Linked DNA regions of Homo sapiens: region 1 is linked to region 2. Evidence: promoter capture Hi-C in 16 types of primary human blood cells and fetal thymus (Javierre and others, 2016). All regions are on one chromosome and are shown on one strand. Each heading gives the region's core, a stretch centred on a gene start or on the middle of the fragment in contact. The rest is flanking DNA. Distances are from core to core; before and after follow the strand shown. Region 1 has its middle 100 kb from the start of YTHDC2. Region 2 holds the start of CCDC112 (coiled-coil domain containing 112).

Region 1 (6,580 bases), core at 3,377-5,876, 1.7 Mb after region 2:
TGACCCCACCCACATCCTGCTGATTGGTCCATTTTACAAAGAGCTGATTGGTCCATTTTACAGAGAGCTGATTGGTCCGTTTTGACAGGGCGCTGATTGGTGCATTTACAATCCCTGAGCTAGATGCAGAGTGCTGATTGGTGTATTTACAATACTCTAGCTAGATGTAAAAGTTCTCCAAGTCCCCACTAGATTAGCTAGACAGAGAGCACTGATTGGTGTGTTTACAAACCTTGAGCCTGACACAGAATGCTGATTGGCGTGTTTACAATCTTTTAGCTAGACACAGAGTGCTGATTGGTGCATTTACAATCCTCTAGCTAGACATAAAAGTTCTCCAAGTCCCCACCAGATTAGCTAGATACAGAGTGCTGATTGGTGCATCCACAAACCCTGAGCTAGACACAGAGTGCTGATTGGTGCATATAGAATCCTCCAGCTAGACATAAAATTTCTCCAAGTCCCCACCCGACTCAAGAGCCCAGCTGACTTTTCCTAGTGGATCCCACACTAGGCCCGTGGGCGGAGCTGCCCGCCAGTCCCACGCCCTGCCTGCACTCCTCAGCCCTTGGGCTGTTGATGAGACTGGGTGCCGTGGAGCGGGGGGCGGCAGCTGTTGGGGAACCTCGGGCGGCGTGGGAGCCCACTGCAGGGGAACTCAGGCATGGCGGGCTGCAGGTCCCGAGCCCTGCCATGCAGGGAGGTGGCTGAGGCCCAGCGAGAATTCAAGCGTGTCGCGCATGGGCCGGCAGTGCTGGGCGACCCAGCACACCTTCCGCAGCTGCTGGCCCGGGTGCTAAACCCCTCACTGTGCAGGCCGGCGATGCCAGCCAGCCACTCCAAGTGTGGGCCGCCAAGCCCCCGCCCACCTGGAACTCGCACTAGCCCACGAGCACCACGCCCATCCCTGGTTCCTATCCACGCCTCTCCCTCCACACCTCCCCACAAGCAGAGGGAGCCAGTTCCGGCCTGGGCCAGCCCAGAGAGGGGCCCCCACAGTGCAGTGGCGGGCTGAAGGGCTCCTCGAGCATAGCCAGAGTGGACGCTGTGGCCTGAGGAGGTGCCGAGAGCAAGCAAGGGCTGCTAGCACATTGTCACCTCTCAATCCCAGCACTTTGGGAGGCCGAGGTGGGTGGATCACGAGGTCAGGAGATCGAGACCACCCTGGCTAACAGGGTGAAACCCCATCTCTACTAAAAATACAAAAAAAGTTAGCCGGGTGTGGTGGCGGGCGCCTGTAGTCCCAGCTACTCAGGAGGCTGAGGCAGGAGAGTGGTGTGAACCTGGGAGTCAGAGCTTGCATTGAGCCGAGATCACGCCACTGCACTCCAGCCTGGGCAACAGAGCAAGACTCTGTCTCATAAAAAAAAAAAAAAAAAAGAAAAGTACCACTGACTGAGAACTTACTATATATCAGGCAATATTATATTTCATTTAACTCCGACAACAACCCTAAGAGGTACATCTGTTATTATCCTCATTTTACATATGAGGAAACTGAGGCACAGATTTAAATTATAAGTTTATCAGAGGCAGAGCTGGAGCTTCAAACCTAGTGTTGCCTCTGGTGCCTGTGCTCTGAGTCTCCAGATTATGCTGCCTCTCTTATAAAACACATTTTTATTTTAAAGCATGTCCACTTCACTGTCTCTTTTAATCTCTGTTAACAACCCTCCAGGAGTTAGATTAGGTAGGAATCTCCACTTTAGTGGGAGGGGAGGGGATTTCCAAAGTGGAGCAAGAGATTTGCTACCCACACTCTTTTCATACAACAAAGTCACAGTTGATGAAATTAAAAATTAAAAACCAAATGAAATATAATAAAATATAAAATAGGATTCTTTTCTTATGCCACACACAAAATCAGCTCAGAATGGATTAAAGGCTTAAATGTAAGACCTGAAACTGCAAAACTCCAGACACAGAAAGAAAAATATTGCATGATCTCACTTAAATGTGTAATCTTTAAAAAAAAAAAAATGTCGAAGACACAAAGACAAAGAACAAAATGATGGTTACCAGCGGTGGGGTGGGGGAAGGAGGGAGGAAATAAGGAGATGCAGATCAAAGGATACAAAGTTGCAGATATGTAGAATGAATAAGTCTAGAGATCTAATGGAACGTGAGGACTATAGAAACTTCAGTGAAGTTTCTGGCTGAGCAGGTCAGGGTTCTGGCTGAAAGCAGATGGAAAGAGTGAAGAGTTATTAGTGAAAGGTCTGTTTACAAAGGAGTGAGTAGAGTTAAGGAAAAATAACAAGAGATAATGAAACACCCCATGACTAGCAATAACAGGAAGCTGCTATCATTCCTGGGCCTGATGAGCCAGAGGAAGGAACAACGAGTTACTGGAAACCGAGACTCTGGTAGCTGTAGGAGAGGGTGGTCATAAGCTGTGGCCTTCAGCAGAGGGTCAAGGACATGTAACCAAATACTCTATTTTTAATTTTTTAATCTTTTTCCATTTTCCTCCTTGCTTACTTTATGTTTAGATGCTTGAAAATTATATGGTAACCTTTGCTCTCTTTCCTTCCACCAGGCACTCCCTTGCACAATGTCCCCCTCATCTAATTATATGTTTTCTTGGAAGTTCATGGACTGAGTCTTGAAACAATCTAGGTACCTATGGAATTCTCCTCCTCCAGGAGATTACTCAAAGCTGCAGTTAGCTTTCACCCCGATTGTGCCTGGGATGGTGCCAGCCCGTTCAACAGATGGGGTAATAACTCAAGTCATCAGAGCAACTTACATAGACTGACTGGCACCTCCTTGCCCCTCTTGCATGCCCCTCCCACCACCAACCTCCCTTTTTAAGCCCTTGCGTTCTATCCAGAAATTTGAAATGGTTCCTTTCAGGCACAAAGCCTTGGCGATTCCTTTCCTTCCTTCCACCCCACCTTGTCCTTGATTTTTGACCTTGCAAGTGGCAAGTAGCTGAACCTGTGTTTGGTTTCAGACCCAGTCAATCTGCCCAGCTACCCAACTGATGTAAGGAAAGAAATTCTCCAGCTCTCTCTCCTTCCATCTATCCATCTCTTGCTGTTGCTTCCCATTGGCCAAACCTAACAGGAAATCAAAGAACATAAAGGTCAGCATATTGAGGCATAGGATAGTGGACCTGTAGAGACGACAGTGATTATCCATCATCATGACTTTCACAATTGTTTACTGAAATTTAGCAGAGACAACCTTGAGTTTCAGATATAGCAAAGCTTGTCTATTAGTGCAAATGGAAAGGTTGGTTTTTAAAAGGCACTTTATTAATTTAATATTGTTAGCTTTGGTGGAAAGAAGTGTGAAGGAAAGGTACTTTGATTCCTGTCTTTTCTAGGGTGTGGCTGAGGACTGAGGAGCAAACATAATAGGGAAGTGGAGGGGAAAAGACATAGCAGTAGCTTTGGATACTGCTTAAAGACACTTTTGGAGGATTCATTTGGAAGGATTATCCTCCAGAAACGTGGGTCCTGAGCACATGTGGTAGCTCCATTTGGTGCCTTGGTTTAATGGTCTGAACATGAAGGATGCCACAGAACTCATTGAGGAAGACCCACTGCTTGTGAGAATCTGTCCAGCCACTTTTCCACCGTGCTCCACTCTCGCAGCCCATGTGACTTGAGGCTTTCTCTATCTTCATGTCTGGGAACTCCAAACACTAATATTTACAGCACATCTCTTAAGTGTTGTCAAAACTGCTTATTGTAAAGGAAAATTTTAAAGAATCTCAGGACCCCCAAACTCCTTATGCAAAAGGAAGGTTAAGCCTGAAGACTGAGTCGTGCAACATCCTCTTGCAAATGAATAGCTGCTACTAGCATTATGCATCAGCCAGATCCTCAAGGAGAGGTGGAGAAGTGAAAGGCCTCAGGCATCTAGGGAGGGCTGTCTCCACAGATCACTCATAAGTAAATTATTTGCTGGCCTCCCATAAACAAGGACATGCCAATTGTAACTGTGGGTCTACAGTCTAAGTCTAGTTCCTAAGACTAAAGTCTGTTATACATATCTTACCAGGTACAGAACAAAGACAAGATGAGGTCAGTCACTTCCTCCATCTACCCAGAAATGTCTGCATTATTGATTCTCCTTTACTCCTTTTTTTCTCTTCAGGGGTTCCCTTTATCCCATGTAAAATGTAGATTCACTGGCCACTAACTAAAGTCTCATAAGAATGTAACTGCCTACCTGTCTCTCTTCCAAATGCCGTAATCTCTTCCAAATTACATAAGAATGTAATTCATCTAACTGCCTACCTGTCTCTCTTCCAAATGCCTTCCCCTGCTTTAAGGAAGTGTATAAATACTGAACTCCTGAAAACCTCTCTGAAAAACAATCAGAGAAGAACATATGTCTATGGCTTATTTTTTCGCAGAATACCCTAAAGCTGGCTTAATAAATCTAGATAGTTGAGACTGTTACAGTAGGTAGCTAGTCAGGTGTATTAGTTCGTTTTCATGGTGCTGGTAAAGACATACCTGAGACTGAGCAATTTACAAAAGAAAAAGGTTTAATTGGACTTACAGTTCCATGTGGCTAGGGAAGCCTCACATCATGGCAGAAGGCAAGGAGGAGCAAGTCATATCTTAACTGGATGGCAGCAGGCAAAAAATGAGGGAGCGTGTGCAGGAGAATACCTCTTTTTAAAACCATCAGATCTCGTGAGACTTACTCACTATCACAGGAACAGCATGGGAAAGATTTGCCCCCATGATTCAATTACCTCCCACCTGGTCTCTCCCACAACACGTGGGAATTCAAGATGAAATCTGGGTGGGGACACAGCCATGAGGCACGAGCAGGGCAAGAGAGGGCTCCCCTAACCACCACCAGGAATGCCAGGCAACCATCAGGTGATGGTCAGGCAGTTTGTCACATGGCCTCTCCAAAATGATAATTGGTCACAGCCTCTGCCAGAGAAAGGCAGTTTCCCATTAGATAAAAACAACTGAAACTGGAGATCAGCAGCTTCCCAATAAGATCTCAGGAATTGGGTGAGTGGGCTCAAACATATGCATTAAGAGGCAAAATGGTGCAAATTAACTGGTATATGACTTTCTGGGGGCATTCCTCTGGAAAACGGAAGACTGCATCAGGTGAGCATGCTTACAACTCCAGTAAACATACTGCACATACTCACCTCCCAAGTGCTAGCAGCACCACACATGTGGGCAGCTCACCCCAAGGGAAGAATCAAGGTAAAAGGGAGGCAAGACACTGGCAGCATATAAAACCCTAAGTCCAAGGTCAAACAGGGCACTTTACCTCCAACATTCCCACTTGACCCTCTTCCAAGTGTACTTTACTTTCTTTTCATTCCTGCTCTGAAACTTGCCTTGGTCTTTTCTTCTGCCTTATGCCCCTTAGTTGAATTCTTTCTTCTGAGGAGTCAAGAACTGAGGCTGCTGCAGACCCACACAGATTATCCAACAGTAACTGTGATATTCACCATTGATAACAAGACTTTTGCCTCAGTCACTCATTCCTGTTATCATAATACGTACATCTATATAGGGTTACCTTTGGCCCTCAAAATAACATACTGCACTTAAGAAATGTCTAAAGCTAACCAGGAAAGGGGAGAGGGGAGGCTTATGTCAGAGAAAAGCGGCTTTCTTTGCAAACTCTTCCCTAAGTAAAGCTCTCTTTAGCATTATCAGGATCCCAAGAGAAGGATCAGATTTTCAGTCATGGTCAGTTTTAACTGAAATATATGTGTCTCAGAGCCAAAGGCATCTAAAGTCCACAACCAGCACCACCCCCAGTCTCTCAGCTAGCCAGAGGTGCATCCTAAAGTGATTTGGGGTTGAAAGAGGAGAGCCCAGACTCCAGGTGCTCCTTCCCCTCAGGGCATCCTTTCCATTTTTTCAAAGGGGTTTTTTTTCCAGTCAAGGCTCTCTCTTAAACTTTTGGGAACGCAGTTCCTCATGTGTAAGACAAGGAGAAGGAATATGCAGTTTCTAAAATTCCTTCCTTCCCTCAAATGGTTTTGAAGAGGTTTCGTTTAAACCACTGAGCTATTTCAATTCATATCAATGAAGCTTATGATTGGTGCATGAAAACACGTACAATATCACCATCTAGCGGATAAAAGGTAGTAATACTAGTGACAATTAATGCAGACAAATGAGTGAACTTTCAAAAGGAGAAAGCAATTATATAGAACTTTCCAGAGAGTATTTCTCAATTTTTTGTAGATTGTAGACCTCTTGGAGAAGTTATGGACCCTCCCACCGCCAAAAATGCGAAATGCATATACCTCAAATTTCTGCACACAATTTTAGACAATATATGACCCTTGAATCATATGCATGGGCCACAGTTTAACAACTTCCACTTTATACATTATTTCAATCACTAGGCAAATGAAAAAGGATCCTATAATCAGCAGGGATCAGTAAATGCTGTAGCACATCTATTGTCTTTAAAAAAAAAAATCTAACCATAATTGAAACCCCTTTCCTATTGTGGAGGTTACTGCATTGTATCAGGGTTGGTGAGAAGTAGGGTTCTACCTGACATGGCAGAAGAGGCCTGCCTGATTTTCTTTGGCCAGAAAAGCACCCGCTTATCTGGTCATTTGCTC
Region 2 (6,109 bases), core at 583-3,082:
TCCTCCTCCTCCTTCTCCTCCTCCTCCTGCTCCTCCTTCTCCTCCTCCTCCTGCTCCTCCTTCTCCTCCTCCTTCTCCCTTCTCCCTTCTCCTTCTTCTCTCTTCTCCTTCTCCTTCTTCTTCTTTGCCTTCTTCTTCTCCTCCATTCTTCTTCCTTCTTCTTCTTCTCCCCTCTTCTTCTTCTCTTTTTTTTTTTTTTTTTTTTTTTTTTTTTTTTTTTTTTTTTTTTTTTGTTGAGACGAAGTCTCACTCTGTCACCAGGCTGGAGTGCAATGACACGATCTTGGCTCACTGCAACCTCCGACTCCCTGGTTCAAGCAATTCTCCTGCCTCAGCCTCCCGAGTAGCTGGGACTACAGACAGGCGCCACCACGCCCAGCTAATTTTTGTATTTTTAGTAGAGATGGGGTTTCACCATGTTGGCCAGGATGGTCTCCATCTCCTGACCTCGTGATCCGCCCACCTCGGCCTCCCAAAGTGCTGGGATTACAGGCGTAAGCCACCACGTCCGGCCTCTTCTGCAAAAACTTCCCTCCACAGACTTCCGGTTTTCCTCCCTTCTCACAGATCTCTCCATATTGGTCCCCTTCTCCTCTTGTCCGTGGTCACCTTCTCGGAGTGGCCTAGGCTTAGTTCTCAGACTTCAATTTATACTCACCCTGGGTGAGCTCATTCAGTCTTATTTCAAATATTTTCTATAGGAAGATCAAATTCGTATCTTTAGCTCTCTCTCTCCTGGGCTCCAGAGGCGTTTATCCCGCTGCCTGTTTAATACCTCTACCAGGATGGTCTCTGGAGTCAGGCTGTCTAGATAGGTATCCTACCCTCTACCTGTGTGGCCATGTGATCCTTAACTTTATCACTGAAATGGAGATGATAATAGTACCTACTTCATGAAGTTATTTGTGAAGATTAAATGCAAAAGTGCATATAAAGCACTTATAACAGCCCTGGCATAAAGGAATTGCTCAATAAATACCTATTTGTTTACTTGTTAAAGGTGAAGGAACCTTACCTATGTGTCTAATTCAACAATGAATTCCCAAGGCCTAGAACAGTGCCTGACATATGCTAGGAGCTCCATATTGACTGACTGAATGAATCGATTTCTATAAAGGGGGAAAAGGTAGTACCTACAGAAATCAGCTCAGTTGCCACAGGTTGTCTTGACTGGAAGCGTCATCTGTGGCTTTTTTCCAACTTCCCAGCACTGTATTTTTGGAATCTGTCTTCTCATTGACCAAGTCCTAGGAATGTAACTGTGGCATTCCTGCCTCTGATATCTGGTTCTGTGGAGCAAGCTGGGTTTTTTTCTTTAAAAATCTAAAATATGATTTATTGTTAGAATCCATTGATAATGTTTTTTCATTTAGACTCAGTCTCAGCAGCGCTAAGTAGAAACCTAGAAAGCGGATGTATATTAGGTAAAAATATGTATATATTGACTATAACACGAATAAAATTTAAGGACGATGTAAGACAATGAATTTTCTTGACAGGTATGGGACTGGGCTGGCACAGTCGGTTAAGTGCCCAAAGGGTATATAAACCCGCGACAGGGCAGAGCGCAGCCCCCGCCCCGCCCCGCCCCGCCCCCACACCCGCCCGCCCCAGAACCCCAGACCCGCCCCTCCCCTGCATCCCGGCTCCGCCCGGCACCTTGCCCCTCCCTCGCCCCGCCCCTCCCCGCCTGAATCCCGGCCCCCGCCTCGCATTTCGGCCCCGCCCTGCACCCCAGTCCCGCCCCTCCCGCACCCCCGCACCCCTGCACCCCCGCATCTCAGCCCCGCCCTGCATCCCGACCCCGCCCTACATCTCGGCCCCGCCCTGCATCCCGGCCAAGCCCGCAGCGCAGGGAGCTGTCTGCAGAGGCCAGGGTGCGCCTGCCACGAATCCCCAGGCACCGGTGGCCGCCGCGGCCCGAGTAGCTCGGCGGGTAAACATGGCCGCACTGACGACGGTTGTGGTAGCGGCTGCGGCCACCGCGGTAGCCGGGGCTGTGGCAGGGGCGGGCGCGGCCACCGGGACCGGCGTGGGAGCGACGCCAGCGCCTCAACAGGTAAATCCGGGAGAACCGAGAGCTGCTCTGGCGGCAGGCGAGGGGCTGCAGGCCCTGGCTGAACAGGTGCCCTCTGCAGCGCCGGCGGGAGGCGCGGCGTTCGCCTCCCCTGCTCGGGGCCTGGCACGCGCTGGGCGTTGCTCTTTGTTGGCTTGTGCGTTTAACAGCTTTTGCAGAGCCGCCTCCATGTGGTTTCGGAGTCGAGGAAGACCTGGGTGGGAACCCGGCTCTGCCGCTTCCTAGCCGCGTGATAAGAACATATGCTGTCGGCGACTCACTTTCTTCTCTAAAAATTGGGAATAGTAACATGCACCTCCCGAGCTTTGGACTAACGTTATGTCTGGGGAGCCCCTGGCACAGTGCTTGATTGGAGGGGGACTCTGTGCTCAGTAATTGGTGGCAGCTCTGTTACTGTACCGGCGCTGGGAACACAAGGAGAAAGACAATATGGGATGGTCGGAGGCAGAGGTGTTTCCAGTGATCGGCTTAGGACCGCTTTCTAGGTGGTGAGGACAAGGTATCTTTGTTCAGATGTTATCAGCTCAGCGAGACTTTCCATGATCTCCCTAAAATGAATCGCCTTACGCGGCACACCCAGTCCCTGTTTCTGGTTTTATTTTTCCCCATAGCACTTAGTACCATATATTATATTACATACTTTATTTCTATTGTTTATGTTTCTCCTCACACCCCTCACCCTCCCTCGCACCCCCATGAGAATGTAAGCTCCATGAGGGCAGAAAGTATTGGAAATTTTATTCTTTATTGTATTCCCAGCACCAAGAACTATGCCTGTTGTGTAGTGCCTGGAACGTAGTATGCACTTACTAAATAATTTGTGGATCAATATAAACCTGAAGGAAGGCTGTCATGAGCTGAGGAGAGGTTCCATCTTTTTCCTCCTTTAAGGAAATACAGTGTCTTTACTCGTAGACCTTCAGGAAATTCCACCTACGGCAAATTTTCTCACACATCCTCTATAATTCTCTTTATTATTCTAACTCTGTCCCAAGTATCTCAGGAAAAAATGTAAAATATATAAATATACATAATACGTAAAGTATTTTTAAGTACTATGCTCAAAAAAATGTGTGACACCATGTTGCTGGCTTTCTCCATCATTTCTCTAAATTCTTGTAGCAATGTTCTGTCTTCTGATCTGCATTTCTTGCGAGTTGCCTAATGTTGTTATTGATGCACACTTTTGTGATGTTTGCCTTCTCAGGGGTTGGATCAGATCACCTGTGGAGCTCTTTCAGATATTTTATCAATCCCCTAGAGGATATCTAGCAATGTTTGGAGACATTTTTGGCTGTCAGAGTGGGGAGCAGGGGGGTGTTGAGGGGCTGCTAGCATCTAATGGATACAGGCCAGAGAACAGCCACCCATAACAAAAATCATCTGGTCCAAAAGTTAGTAGTGCTGAGATTGAGAACCATGGTGTATACTGTCTTACCACTTTAGTAGGGAAAGCAGAGCCTCATTGTTGAGAATCTACCTCAGCATAGTTAGGTAGAATTCTTCACGTGTGTTTGGGCTTTTTTAAAAAAACAAAACAAAACAATGCAGCATTACTGCATGCTATATTGTGATAATGTTTAGGAGTTTACATGTTATCCATTTTTGTACTTCCCCCAGCATACCACACGCACATACCTATACACACAAATTCTACAGCCTAACACCGAACTTGAATATTTGTCATATGATTAAATGAACGAATATTCCTACTGACTTTAACACTGAAACCAACTAGTATTTTCTTGAGAAGAGAGAATTTTCCTGGTGGCAATCTCATGATACTAGAGATGTCTACCAAAATATCTAAAGTTCCTGTCAGCTAGGGCTTCTATAACAAAATGCTACAGACTTGGTGGCTAAAACAACAAAAGTTTATTTTCTCACAGTTCTAGAAGCTAGAAGTTCAAGATCAAGTTGCCCTTAGGGTTGGTTTCTGGTGAGGCCTCTTTTCCTGGCCTGTAGGCAGCCACCTTCTCACTGTGTCCTCACATAGTCTTTTCTCTGTTACAAGAGGAGAGAAAGAGATCTCTGGCATCTCTTCTTATAGGAACACTAGTTCTATCAAATTAGGTCCCCACCTTAATGACCTCATTTAACATAAAGACCCCATCTCCAGATAGAGTTATTTGGGGATCAGGCCTTCTACATAGGAATTTTGAGGGAACACAATTCAGTCCATCACAGTGTCTTTAAATTACTTTGGAGTAAATATCTCTGAAGTTTTAAAACTATTTTATATTGTATTTTATTTTACAATATCCTCAGGGCGTGGAATCTCATAAATTCCTCACTCATTATGAAAAGTTAACACATTTTCCATACTTTTTAATATTTGTATATTATTTGTTCATAACCCCTCTTAGCTATTGCCTTTCAAAACTGAAGACCGCAAATCTCTATCCTCCTCTCCAATGTCATTTCCTTCTTGTTACCATCTGTTCTCTTGATCATTGTAGTTGCTGAATTATGACTTTTTTGAAGTATCTTTAACAGTATCACATTAGTGTGATGCTGGTTTTGTACCAGCATAAGGCTCTGTCTTCTGTTTTGTTTCTAAGGACCTTCCCTCTGATGACCTGAATTTTATGTTCCTTGGCTGCCTGAAATAACCCTTCAATAATAACTATTTTCACCTGTGACTGTGTAATCTTGCATCGTAAAAGGGACTTTGCAGGTGTGATTAAGATAAATTAAATACCTTAATTATCTGAGTGGACCTGGTGTAATCACAAAGGTCCTTATAAGAGAGTCGCAGGAAGATCAGAGTCAGAAGTAGGAGATGTGATGATGGAAGGAAGAGGATGGAGTGATGTGAGGAAGGGGCCATTAGCCAAGGAATTAAGGTGGTTCTAGATGCTGGAAAAAAAGGTAAGGGGGTGGATTCTTCCCTGAAGCTTCCAGAATGAATGTAGCCCTACTAACACCTTTGTTTTAATTAACATTATTTTTAATTGACAAATCTTAATTATATACATTTATGGGGTACAGTGTGATGTTCTGATATATGTATACAATGTGGAATGATTAAACCTGGCTAATAATTAACATATCTATCACCTCACTTATTTTTTTCTGGTGAAACATTTGAAATTTACTCTTATTTTGAGATACACAATACATTATTACTGAGTATAGTTAACCTACTGTGCAGTAGATCTCAAAACATTCCTCCTGTCTATCTGAAACTTTGCACCGTTTGACCAACTACCTATTTCCTTCCTTGCCCTCCCCACCAGCCTCTGGCAACTATTGTTCTACTCTGTGTTAGATTCCACGTGCAGTTTAAGTGAGATTATACAGGATTTGCATCTCTGTTTCACTTAGCGTAATGTCCTCCAGGTTCACACTTTGATTTTAGAGTAGACCTCCAGAACTATAAGTCAATAAATGTGTGTTGTTTAAGCCACTGCACTTATGGTGAGTTTGTTACAGCAGCAATAGGAGACACCAGGAAAGACCTAAGAAGCTCTCAGTCCTCATCCTTGTTTGTCTTTGAAACACTGTGCTGGCAGAAAGTAAATACTAAGATAGGGTTGTAAACTGCCTGCCTGCATGTAGGAGGTATGCTTCAGCATGCATACAGACCCCCTTTCCCAAAGGTAGCAAAGGCTAGGACACATAGTGGTTCAATGCATCTAAGGAAATCTCTGACCAATTATTGGCTGACAACTGAGCTAACCAATCAGAGATTTCACTGCCACACCTGACCAAGACTACAGATTTTACAGAATTAGTTTAAAGTGACCAAACAAACAGCAACAAAACAAACCCTGCTAAGGGGAGAGAATCTCATTTTTGGAGTTGTCCATTATATTATTTTATATGTCCAGTCTTTAACAAAGTTATGAGACACGGCAAGAAAGTATGGTTCACACATGGGGAAAACAGTAAAAAGGAACTGTCTCTGAGGAATACTGGCTATTGGACATACTAGGCAAAGACTTCAAAACAGTTATTTAAATATGTTCAAAGAACTAAAGGAAACCATATCTAAAGAACTAAGAGAAAGTGTGGGAATGAAATAGAAAT

The links. The method cuts DNA at HindIII sites, captures the fragments that hold promoters and counts their contacts. A CHiCAGO score of 5 or more calls a contact.
Region 1: a contact is called between a fragment that was not itself captured here and the fragment with the promoter of CCDC112 in region 2, in 3 of 17 cell types (total B cells, total CD4 T cells and total CD8 T cells). The highest score is 6.4, in total B cells.

The regions. Positions count from the first base shown.
Region 1 is chr5:113,611,668-113,618,247 of GRCh38, reverse strand. No RefSeq gene overlaps it. Among named protein-coding and RNA genes, the nearest start is that of YTHDC2, 100 kb to the right of the region's middle. The HindIII fragment of the contact is 2,823 bases long and covers 3,215-6,037 here.
Region 2 is chr5:115,292,377-115,298,485 of GRCh38, reverse strand. CCDC112 (coiled-coil domain containing 112) reads left to right here and starts at 1,832. Exons shown (of 10, transcript NM_001040440.3): 1 at 1,832-2,059. The coding sequence starts at 1,943. LOC105379129 (a long non-coding RNA gene) reads right to left here and starts at 1,558. Exons shown (of 5, transcript XR_948684.3): 1 at 1,138-1,558. RefSeq lists a silencer at 1,734-2,183. The HindIII fragment of the contact is 8,729 bases long and covers 1-4,976 here.